Linked DNA regions of Homo sapiens: all the other regions are linked to region 2. Evidence: promoter capture Hi-C in human tissues and cell types (Jung and others, 2019). All regions are on one chromosome and are shown on one strand. Each heading gives the region's core, a stretch centred on a gene start or on the middle of the fragment in contact. The rest is flanking DNA. Distances are from core to core; before and after follow the strand shown. Region 1 overlaps RIMS1 (regulating synaptic membrane exocytosis 1). Region 2 holds the start of KHDC1L (KH domain containing 1 like). Region 3 has its middle 15 kb from the start of KCNQ5. Region 4 overlaps RIMS1 (regulating synaptic membrane exocytosis 1).

The links. The method cuts DNA at HindIII sites, captures the fragments that hold promoters and counts their contacts. A contact is called where the count stands out against the background at its distance.
Region 1: a contact is called between a fragment that was not itself captured here and the fragment with the promoter of KHDC1L in region 2, in 2 of the 25 tissues and cell types used here (IMR-90 fibroblasts and lymphoblastoid cells).
Region 3: a fragment that was not itself captured here is called in contact with the fragment with the promoter of KHDC1L in region 2 in 2 of the 25 tissues and cell types used here (dorsolateral prefrontal cortex and spleen).
Region 4: a fragment that was not itself captured here is called in contact with the fragment with the promoter of KHDC1L in region 2 in 1 of the 25 tissues and cell types used here (dorsolateral prefrontal cortex).

What each region holds. Positions count from the first base shown.
Region 1 is chr6:72,285,160-72,287,859 of GRCh38, forward strand. All of the region lies in intron 24 of RIMS1 (regulating synaptic membrane exocytosis 1), which reads left to right. Among named protein-coding and RNA genes, the nearest start is that of KCNQ5, 340 kb to the right of the region's middle. The HindIII fragment of the contact is 4,356 bases long and covers 1-2,700 here.
Region 2 is chr6:73,224,085-73,226,784 of GRCh38, forward strand. It overlaps KHDC1L (KH domain containing 1 like), which reads right to left and starts at 1,412. Exons shown (of 3, transcript NM_001126063.3): 1 at 1,213-1,412; 2 at 82-264. The coding sequence starts at 1,324. It overlaps LOC122539213 (KHDC1-KHDC1L), which reads right to left. Exons shown (of 7, transcript NR_173146.1): 5 at 1,213-1,337; 6 at 82-264. RefSeq lists enhancers at 1-967, 202-496. The HindIII fragment of the contact is 18,776 bases long and covers 1-2,700 here.
Region 3 is chr6:72,605,527-72,608,226 of GRCh38, forward strand. No RefSeq gene overlaps it. Among named protein-coding and RNA genes, the nearest start is that of KCNQ5, 15 kb to the right of the region's middle. The HindIII fragment of the contact is 6,628 bases long and covers 1-2,700 here.
Region 4 is chr6:72,390,832-72,393,531 of GRCh38, forward strand. RIMS1 (regulating synaptic membrane exocytosis 1) reads left to right here. Exons shown (of 34, transcript NM_014989.7): 31 at 1,867-1,979. Among named protein-coding and RNA genes, the nearest start is that of KCNQ5, 230 kb to the right of the region's middle. RefSeq lists a silencer at 1-83. The HindIII fragment of the contact is 4,037 bases long and covers 1-2,700 here.

The sequences.
Region 1 (2,700 bases), core at 58-2,557, 940 kb before region 2:
CAACTTCTTTATTGATCTGTGAGCCACAGATGTGCTTTAAACATGGGAGGCAGAGGATCAGTTTTGAGTTCCAAAATTATAGATCACTTTGACTGATTTTTGGAAGGTAGATCAAAGGATCTAGGGGTAGATGCAAGGCATCAGCCAGGCTATCTCAATAGGCCTAGTAGAGATAGAATTTGTACAATTCAGTGATTCATTCAGTTAACAGATATATACCAACTATGTGCTAAGTTCAAGTAATAAAATAGCAAGTAGCAAAAAAGAAAAGCTTTCCAGAGGATGTTAACACTGAGTTGAGATCTGAAAAATGAGTAGGTGTGAGACATATCAAGGGATGTGGTATGTAAAAGGGAGATGAAATTTATTTCTGGACAGTGGTCCATGGAGAAATTGACTATTTAGGGAACTTGATTCACAATGGAATAAGGATACAGGGGACTCATGAAAAGTGTTGAGTAGTACAAAGAGTTGGACTTTGAGGAAGGAAATTGATCAATCGATAGATAGATAGCCTTTGATGAAACAATGTTTGTATTTTCACATTCTTTAATCCCAGCTCAGTTAACTGCAGTTTCTTTACCATCATTGTAAATAACTATAATTTCTTAGATAAATTTTCAATCTTCAACCATCATTTTCAGCCCCCTCTACACAATTTCAATTATTTTGACATGATTAAACCTTTTCCTTGAAGTTGTATTCTTTTAATTCTATTCAGTATTCTTTCATTCATTTTTTAAAAATACTAGTTGAGTCTGGTCATGGTGGCTCACACCTGTAATACCAGCACTTTGGGAGGCCAAGGCGGGCAGATCATCTGAGGTCGGGAGTTTGAGACTAACCTGACCAACATGGAGAAACCCCATCTCTACTAAAAATACAAAAGTAGCTGGGCCTGGTGGCACATGCCTGTAATCCCAGCTACTCGGGAGGCTGAGGCAGGAGAATTGCTTGAACCTAGGAGGTGGAGGTTGCGGTGAGCCGAGATTGCGCCATTGCACTCCAGCCTGGGCAAGAAGAGCAAAACTCCATCTCAAAAAAAAAAAAAAATTGCTAGTTGAGTGACTACTGTGTGTAGTTATATATTAAGGATACATCAGTGAACAAGTTTTTTTGGCAATAAGATACTATTTTAGAAAATGATAGATGATGCCAGTGTCAGCTGGAGGTGCTTAACTCCAGATTAATGATATTGAGGCATCTGCCTTTGCAACTCTGAAATGTAATCTGTGGATAAACACAAATCCTCCAATCAGAATAGCAAGGATTTGATTGACTTTCATTTTCAAATATATGACACTTATGAATCATATTCATAGTACTCTTGCCTTTCCTTTGCTTATAGTTTAAAGTAGAAAGCTGTAACCTTTTAGATGTGTTTGATTATAATTAAAGCTTTTCATTGATTTTTATTAGAGTGTAAACTACATGCCTAGTTTCTTTGTGAATTGTTGAATAGCAGGTTACAAAAGAAGAACTGGCCTGGGTTTTCTAATTTATGTTAGCTCTGAATAAGAGCTGTTAAGAAGATACCTTGAATTTACATCTAGCTACACGTGAACCGAAGACACAGTATAAATGCTTTGGACACTGACTCCTGGCCTTTGAGAGTTGATAACTTCCCAAAAGGAGTCATACTACACAGTTTTGCACTGGTTTCTGGCGAAATTTGCTGTTTAATGATCATAATTTTAAAGGCCTTTTATTGCCCTCAACAAATGTAACCTCATGACAGATAGCCTTTTAAGAATATATTTTGAAAGAGATGATGACCAGTTGTCATTAGGAGACAAGTAGAACTGATTTATATTTTTTGTGTCAAGCCACTTAAAGAAATGTATCATATTTTCTTTGGAAGCTTCTTGATAAGATAAAAGTCTAGCTTTTCATCTTCATGTGAATTCACCCTTGAGAACTGCTGCCCATCATTTCTGCATTCCATTCTAGTGACTTTTCTTCCTGTAGAAACTACACTCTACATTCTAACTTGGGGATGCTTTATTTCTTTATTTGGACTACTATTTAGAATTGCTTACATATGCATTTTATGGTGTGTTATTGCAAAAGAGCCTGTGCAGGCCTGTAACGGACCAGCACAGTAGGAACCACTTTGAAAATTTGACCTTAAATACCACATACATGTCCATTCTTTAACAAGTTGTTTAAAAACAAAAACAACAGAACTACATTGTTTTTAGGCTTTGGTAGAAGCAATTTACTGCAAGTCCATTTGCAGCAACAAAAATGTCTGACTAAAGACGCAAATTTTTATTGAGAAGTATGTTTTACTTAAGTGTAAATCAAAACTCTAGTCTTAGATGAAGGAGAGTAGGCATGGATTGAACTTAGTGGTAAATGTTTAGATACATACTTGAAGATGGTAAACTTAGGGTCAGGCATACATAAGTTTGAATTAAACTTTTGCTCTGCAAACTTTTTTTTTTTTTTTTGGAGATGGAGTCTTGCTCTGTCACCCAGGCTGGAGTGTGGTCACACGATGTTGGCTCACTGCAGCCTCTGCCTCCTGGGTTCAAGTGATTCTCCTGCCTCAGCCTCCTGAGTAGCTGGATTACAGGTGCGTGCTATACGCCCGGCTAATTTTTGTATTTTTAGTAGAGACGGGGTTTCACCATGTTGGTCAGGCTGCTCTTGAACTCCTGACCTTATGATCCACCCGCCTCAGCCTCCCATAGTGGC
Region 2 (2,700 bases), core at 162-2,661:
ACGAATCCAAGATGCCACACAACACAGCCAGAACTCCACCATCAAGCCCTCCACCTCCACAGTTCGGCCAAGGATACCTACCTCGAGCGTGACACTTGGAGTCCTGGCTCCCCACGCAATGGAACATGAGCAGCAGCCACTGCTTTGCCATTGGTGGTCCGACTACAGTCACACGTGTCTGGCCTGTAGCTGTGAAACACCTCTCCAGCTGAATAAGGGTGTGGCTGTGCAGCTCAATGCAGCGAAGGTACGTGTCATCAAGTCCTGTAAGCACAAGAAGTGAGAAGAGAAACTGTCAGCCACCAGTCCTTGGGGAGTGAGGAGGTGGCCTTGAGGGTAGGGATGTGTGACTCATGAAGGTGGGAGGAGAGGGGAAGATTGAAAATCGAGAAGGGGATGAAGGAGGCCGGCCTAGCGCAGTGACTCATGCCTGTAATCCCAGCAATTTGGGAGGCCGAGGCAGGTAGATCAGTTGAGGTCAGGAGTTCCACACACGCCTGGCTAACATGGTGAAACCCCGTCTCTACTAAAAATACAAAAAATTAGCCGGGCGTGGTGGCAGGCGCCTGTAGTCCCAGCTCCTCGGGAGGCTGCGGCAGGAGAATGGCGTGAACCCGGGAGGCGGAGCTTGCAGTGAGCCGAGATCGCGCCACTGCACTCCAGCCTGGGCGACAGAGATTCCATATCAAAAAAAAAAAAAAAAAAAAAAACACGAGGCCGGGCGCAGTGGCTCACACTTGTATTCCCAGCAGTTTGGGAGGCCGAGGCCGGCAGATCAGGAGGTGAGGAAATCGAGACCATCCTGGCTAACACGGTGAAACCCCATCTCTACTAAAAATACAAAAAAAATTAGCCGGGCGTGATGGCGGGCGCCTGTAGTCCCAGCTGTTCTGGAGGCTGAGGTGAGAGAATGGCGTGAACCCGGGAGGCAGAGCTTGCAGTGAGCCGAGATCGCGCCACTGCACTCCAGCCTGGGCGGCAGAGCAAGACTCCGTCTCGAGTCTCAAAAAAAAAAAAAAAAAAAGTACAAAAACTAGTTAGGCGTGGTGGCAGGCGCCTGTAATCCCAGGTACTCTGCAGGCTGAAGCAGGAGAATCACTTGAACCCAAAAGGCAGACGTTGCAGTGAGCCAAGATCACGAGCGAGAATCTGTCTCAAAAAAATAAAAATAAAAAACAGATGAAGGAGGGGACGTGGGCAAAGGCCACTCACCGAAGATGAGCTCCTCCTGGTCCTCTTCCATGTGGAACACCATTGGAGAATGAAAGTTTTCGGGCAGGGTCCACCACGGCTCCTTGCTGAGAGCACTCGTTCCCACGGCCATGCTGTGCTCCCACCTGATTCAGAATAGGGGAAAGTCTAACAAACTGGTTGGCAAAAGACTTGGAAAAGCGAGGAAGGGCCTAGGCTCTGTCCTTAAAAAGGGTTGTCCTTAATAAGGGTTGTTGGAATCCAAACAACCCGCCCCTTGATCCACCTTAGGGTGGATGTCCAATCCCCGGAGGTCTTCCCAAGATAATTCATTCCAAGTAATTATCTGCTCTGAGCTTAATTCTTTCAAGTCAAACTTAATCATCTGATAAGTGCTTGGCTTTCTGATGTCCTGGAATCAGAAATTTTTCTTCACTCTAAATTCAAAGAATTTTGGAGCAGGGGGTTGAGGGTATGGAGGTGCAGGAAGGCTCCAAATGGGCTCCCTAGATTTGCACAGGTGTCGGCAGCCACCCAGTGACCACACAGTGTATTCCAACACGACTTGGTTTATTTGGTGTGTTGCGTCAAGGGAGAGCAAACAATAGAGGAAAATAAACTTGATAGGATAGTGTCATAGGGAGCCCATTGTAGGAGTTGACTAGGGCAGTCCAAGGCGTGTTTAAGGAGTAGGAGCCAGTTCTCTAAAATGGTGCAATTTGATGATTATTCTGGTAAATTTATCTAGGAAGTTGAGAGACTAATGTGGTCTTCACTGCAGAATGTTATCTCTCTCTGGTTTCAAATATAGTTACAGAATAGACTTTCTATATCTTGTTGCATGACAATCACTGAGCAAACTTGACTGCTTAAAATATTCTTCGGCCGGGTGCAGTGGCTCATGCCTGTAATCCCAGCACTTTGGGAGGCTGAGGTGGGCGGATCAGGAGGGCAGGAGTTCAAGACCAGCCTGACCAACATGCTGAAACCCTGTCTCTACTAAAAATACAAATACATTAGCCGGAGTGTGGTGGTGCACACCTGTAATTCCAGTTACTCAGGAGGCTGCAGCAGGAGAATCGCTTGAAGCCGGGAGGCAGAGGTTGCAGTGAGCCGAGATCGCACCACTGCACTCCAGCCTGAGTGACAGAGCGAGACCCCGTCTCAAAAAAAAAAAAAATTTTGCAGGAGATGTTTGTGTGTGGTAGGGAAGATTCAGCTTGGCCTGTCAGCTTCCCACTGCAAGTTCCTGGGTGATTTTTCACTTTTCATCCTCCTCTTTTGACCAAAGACAAAGTCAGCCATCAGGACTTTCATCTGTGAGGTTCAGATCTACACCACTGTCTGAGTCCACAGATCACAAGGTTATCGGGAGAACATTCTCTGCATCCACATACATTTGGTCTCTCATATACATTTAGTACAAAATATACAAGTGAAAATATAATGACTGCACAGTAGCATTTAAGACTGAACAGGAGGCCAGGCGCTGTGGCTCACGCCTGTAAT
Region 3 (2,700 bases), core at 1-2,500, 620 kb before region 2:
CAAATTCCCTGTTAAATCTTTTTATTTGTTTGAGGCTTGTGTAGTTGATTGCTTGCTTATTTGTTGCTTGCAACAAATCATACTCTGACATTGCCCAAAAGTAATTGCCCCAGAAATAAAAGGTGTAATTTTTAAATCTGTGTATTAATTTTTATATAAATGCTAACTTTGTGGTCACAATTCCAACAGACTGATGACATTGAATATGATTCTGTCCTTACACCTCGAAATCACAATCTGTGGAACTTGAACTCTTTCAAGGGGACAAGCATAAGGAATATTTCTATGTGTAGGGGACATTGGTCATGTTTTCCGACTTGTCAGTTGCTTTTGAGTGTTCTTGCTTTGTTTGAGTAATTCCAGGCTCTAACAGTGCCAGAGCACCAAGATAAAGGCAGGAAAAATAGAATGGTCCCACTTAAGACTTTGAATTGGAAATGAGTAACTTAGGAGGTAGCAAAAACTCAGCTTCCATTTGGTTGGCTTTATGGAGCAGTATTGGTTTTAAGACCAACTACTAGCTAAAGGAGATATCATGCTGTTGGAAATTGCAGTACAATAAAGAAAAGTTCCAGCAAATAGGATGTTCACTGTGGCATCAATATTATCAGACCACTTTTGCATGGTTTGGTACATTGTTCCTAAATGCTTAGCTTTGGGCCTGGTTCTCTAACCCTTGCCTCAATAATGTGTGCAACTCAATACTCTCCAAATAAACTCCTTTTAATTTAATTAATCAGAGCCAGCTACTGTTGTTCTCATCTGAGAACCAAAACCAAAACGAAAGTCAATGCCAGGAGCACTACAAGGAAAAAAGGGCCCAGTCATTTACAGCCTGGGAAGCCAGTGACTCTTGATAGACACTATAGGCAGGTAGTTGCATGCTAGATCTGGGGTATAGACAATGTGCCAGCTGAGGTTGGAATGTTAGAGCAAATGCTACCAAATTTTCAGAATATTTGTGTGTAGTAGACTTAACTTTCTGTTTTCAGGAAATTGCTACAAGAAAGAGATGAAAACCTTAATGATTAGCAACTGTTCTATTTCTAAGAAAGATATGTTAAGTCTTCCACTGTAATTGTTAATTTGTCAAATCCTTCTTGTAGTCCAGTGTATGCTTTATATATTTTGAACCCATATTATTTCATCCATACAAATTTAGAATTGCTGTATTATCCTGGTGAGTTGAAACTTCTATCATTATGAAATGCCTCTTTAATCTCTAGTAATGCTTTCAGCCTTAAAATCTATGTTGTCTGATACTGGCATGACCATGTCTTTTTCTATCCTTTTACATTCAACCTTCTGTATCTGTGAATTTAAGGTATGTCACTTGGGTAATCAAGGAGGTGGCCTATGGTAGACGTTGCTGGTTGTCTGTCTGTTCCCCATTTGTTTACATGGTTCTCAATTATTTCCAATATATTCAACTAAAATAGTTCACTTTCCTTACCTTACTTGCAGTTGTGGTTGGTCATGAGATGGTTCTGGCCAATAAGCTGCAGGTAGAGATTCATCAGGAGGACACCCTTTCTGAATAACAAGCAAAGTCCATTTTTCCCTTGAGCTTTTCCCTTATTCTCACCTGGAATTTCATACATAATGTTTGGAAACATAGCTGCCACTGTTGTGACCGTAAGGATGAATGACACATGCTAAGCAGGTGAAAGTGGCAAATGGAAAAAGTTAGGCCTTACGTCCTTGTGGAGGCTTGCCTGCCTGACTCTTGACTCAAGTCTTCTCTGCTTGAAACAAATAGGCCTTACTTAAACCAGTGTTTTGGGGAGGGGGTCTCTATTAGCAGCTGAACACATTCTTTTTTTTTTTTTTTTTTTTTTTTTGAGACGGAGTCTCGCTGTCTCCCAGGCTGGAGTGCAGTGGCGCAATCTCGGCTCACTGCAAGCTCCGCCTCCCGGGTTCACGCCATTCTCCTGCCTCAGCCTTCCGAGTAGCCAGGACTACAGGCGCCCACCACTACGCCCGGTTAATTCTTTTCTCTATTTAGTAGAGACGGGCTTTCACAGTGTTAGCCAGGATGGTCTCGATCTCCTGACCTCGTGATCCGCCCGCCTTGGCCTCCCAAAGTGCTGGGATTACAGGCGTGAGCCACCGCACCCGGCCCACATTCTTAAGATACAATTGTAATGTTAGGATTCAGAATCTCCAGGAAAGGGGTATCTGTACACCTAGAAATACCAGGTTCAGTTAGGGAAGTGACTCTGTTCTTCTCTCCTGTGTTTGAAGCCAGAATGATCAGTGTTTATGGGCCTTTGCAGATATATCTTCTTCTCTTATATGTGGCTGTTAATAAAATTTCTAAATAGACAACCCTCTATTCCTAAAAGCATTTTCTAATTTGGAGAGATATATGGTTTTGTGGTTAAGATCACAGTTTCTGGAGTCAGCGATTTTTCATATCCTGTTCATATCCCCACTTTTTGGTTACTGCTTGTGTGATACTGAGCAATCTCTTAATGTTTCTGAGCTTATCTCCACATCTTAAAAATGGGGAGAGTAGTAATGCCCATGTCATATAGTTGTGGCAGGATTAAATGCAGTTCTTCAGAAAAGCATGTAGGAGAGTGTATATTGACTTTTTTTTTCCATCAAGAGTTAAAATTTAAAACTTGGAACTATTTTAGAATTTCTGCATTGGTTGAAAGAAATTTAAACTCCATTCAAACTCTAAAATTCAACAGC
Region 4 (2,700 bases), core at 124-2,623, 830 kb before region 2:
TCTATTTAATCAGAAGTTCAACCATCCATTTTAAACCACCCTGATGGCTTATAAGTAAGTACACATGGACACACCTCTACACCTGGTCATTCATACCTTTCAAAGGGTGAAGAAATTCTGAGTCCACATGAACAAATTGATTTCTTGCATCTAGGAAAGCCCAGACTAGTTCCTTACTGGATGTTTAGTGTACAAATGCCACAGGTAATGGACTCTTTCATATGGGAAACTCATAGTCTGTCCCTGTCACCAAAGTCCAAGTTAAAATTTATAAGTAAGGAACTGATTTCCCATTTTCTTAATTTTCTCCAAGCTATTTTGGACCCTAAGCTTTTCTAAGTCTAACACTGTCATATATGTAAGTTACATTTTCTTGTTTTTAAAACATTGCTGACTCATTTTTACCTTAGGAAATAATCCAGGGTCTATCAGCTTCATTATTTTTCTGACTAAAATGTTTTAGTTAATTCTGAAAAAATAGAATACGATTTTTAAAAATTTACTCTTTTCGATTCTTTTTCTTTTTTTTTTTTTTTTACCATTTCATATGGATCCTGCACAAAACCTGCTTCTTCCTATGCTTGAGAATATTTCTGGTAAAATTGAATTTTTATTGAGGTAGTGGATCTTACAAATAAGTAATTAATGTGTTGTTTTGGATTACATGGAGATTCACCACATATAAATTTTCCATAATTATTTGTTCATTACCATTCACATTACTCATATACCAATTTGATATTTCTAATTTCTTGTCTTTACTGGAATTTTTCTATATTGTTTAGAAAATTTAACAGAATTATGCCAAGTTACTGTTTGTGATATTCCTTCCCATTCCTGAAACTAGTTGGTCTCTGTTTAGTTGGTCAAATGATTGGCTTGTTATGCATGTTTCCAGTAAGGAATATAAGAACAAAAATCAGCAGGTATGAAAGTTACAGAGATAAACTTACTGACAAAATACCCATATTTGATGAAGTAGCATAAAGTAATATACAAATGAGACTTGAACACATCATTTTCTGATATAAAAAAGTAACAAATAAAATTTGCCTCCATCATAAACCATTTAATCTCTTGGATTTATTTTCATGGTCTCTGGATGGGATTATAATCTGTGTCCCATTTAATTTCCTTGGTTAAAAGAAATAATAGATGTGAAAGCACAATGGAAAGAGTAAGTCTCTATAGAAATATGCTCATTCAAAAAATGCTTATTGAATGCCTATCACATAATGAGCATAGTTGTCATTACCCAGTGATAACTACATCAGTCAACAAGAAGAGAACAGGCACTGCCCTTGTGCAGCTTACATCCTGGGGCTATCAGGAAGTTGTATTATAGGAAGAAATACAGATTTTTTAACCAATTAATTTCCATTGGAACCAAATAAAAGTCTCAAATAATTCATCTTTGAATCAATTAAATGTTTATAAATAAGAACTTGAACTATGTTATAACATTTATTCAAGAAATTATTGGCCACTTTAAAAATTTAGCATGAATGTTACCTAATGTTCATGAGCAAGTATCTGTGTGAAGTTTATGATATAAAAATTCGCATCTTATGTTTTTTTGTCAGCAACACATTTATATAAGGATTTGGAACTTGGTATATTAAAAACTATAACTGAGCCCTCTTGAATAGAGCATTAGGTGTTAAATTGAGAGTTTACACCTTTCCTCAGTCAATGTTAAGCCTCATATGCTTGGCTCAAAGGCAATGCAAAGAATCAATTAAAAAAACAGATTGTCTAAGTAATATTTATGTTTCATGATCATAATTAGTCAAGTGGAAACTAGTGAAAAGAATTCTAGAAGATTTCATGGGTTTTTTCCTTTGGTTTTTATCCTTTTGCTGATAGTTTAATATTTCCTGGAGTGCGACTGGGAGCTGACAGTCAATTCAGTGATTTTCTTGATGGATTGGGACCAGCCCAGCTTGTTGGCCGCCAAACCCTTGCCACCCCTGCAATGGGTAAGAATCATTTTTTTTTTCTACAAGAAAATTGATGTTTTGTGTTTGACAAAGTCATTTAAAATATTTAAAATTGTGTAATAGCAATACAAGTGAGAAGCAACATTTTAGCTACAGAGTTACTGTTTGCAAACAACTATTCTAATTTCAAGTGCATTTTTCTAATTTGAGATGTTATGAAAAAAGAAGTAAAATTAGCTATAAATATTTGAATTACCAGAAACCCTGATATAATAGATGTAAATGTAGGACATGGGTGGCATTTCACAGCATGGAAAAAAAAAAAAAAAGACTGTTCAGTAAAGTATAGTAACATAACTATTTACCTGTGTGAAAAAATTAATGGAATTCCCTCACGCCTACACAACTTACCAAAAAAGTTAGTATTTTAGACTCAACTATAAAAAAGAAAAGGGAAGGTGGAGAAAAACACTAAAAAGTACTGGAGAACACTTAAGTTAATCTGTCTGTAATCTTGCAGTGGGAAAGAACTTCAGCAAAATGCATGAAAATAGATCAGCTTGAAGACACAACATAGTGGAATTTCACAATACTGAGGCTTGATAGAAAATCATGCAAGCTTCCTAAGAGGAAAAATAATTTTACAAAAAAACTATCAAAAATCAGATTCTTGCCGGGCGCTGTGGCTCACGCCTGTAATCCCAGCACTTTGGGAGGCCGAGACAGGCGGATCACGAGGTCAGGAGACCGAGACCATCCT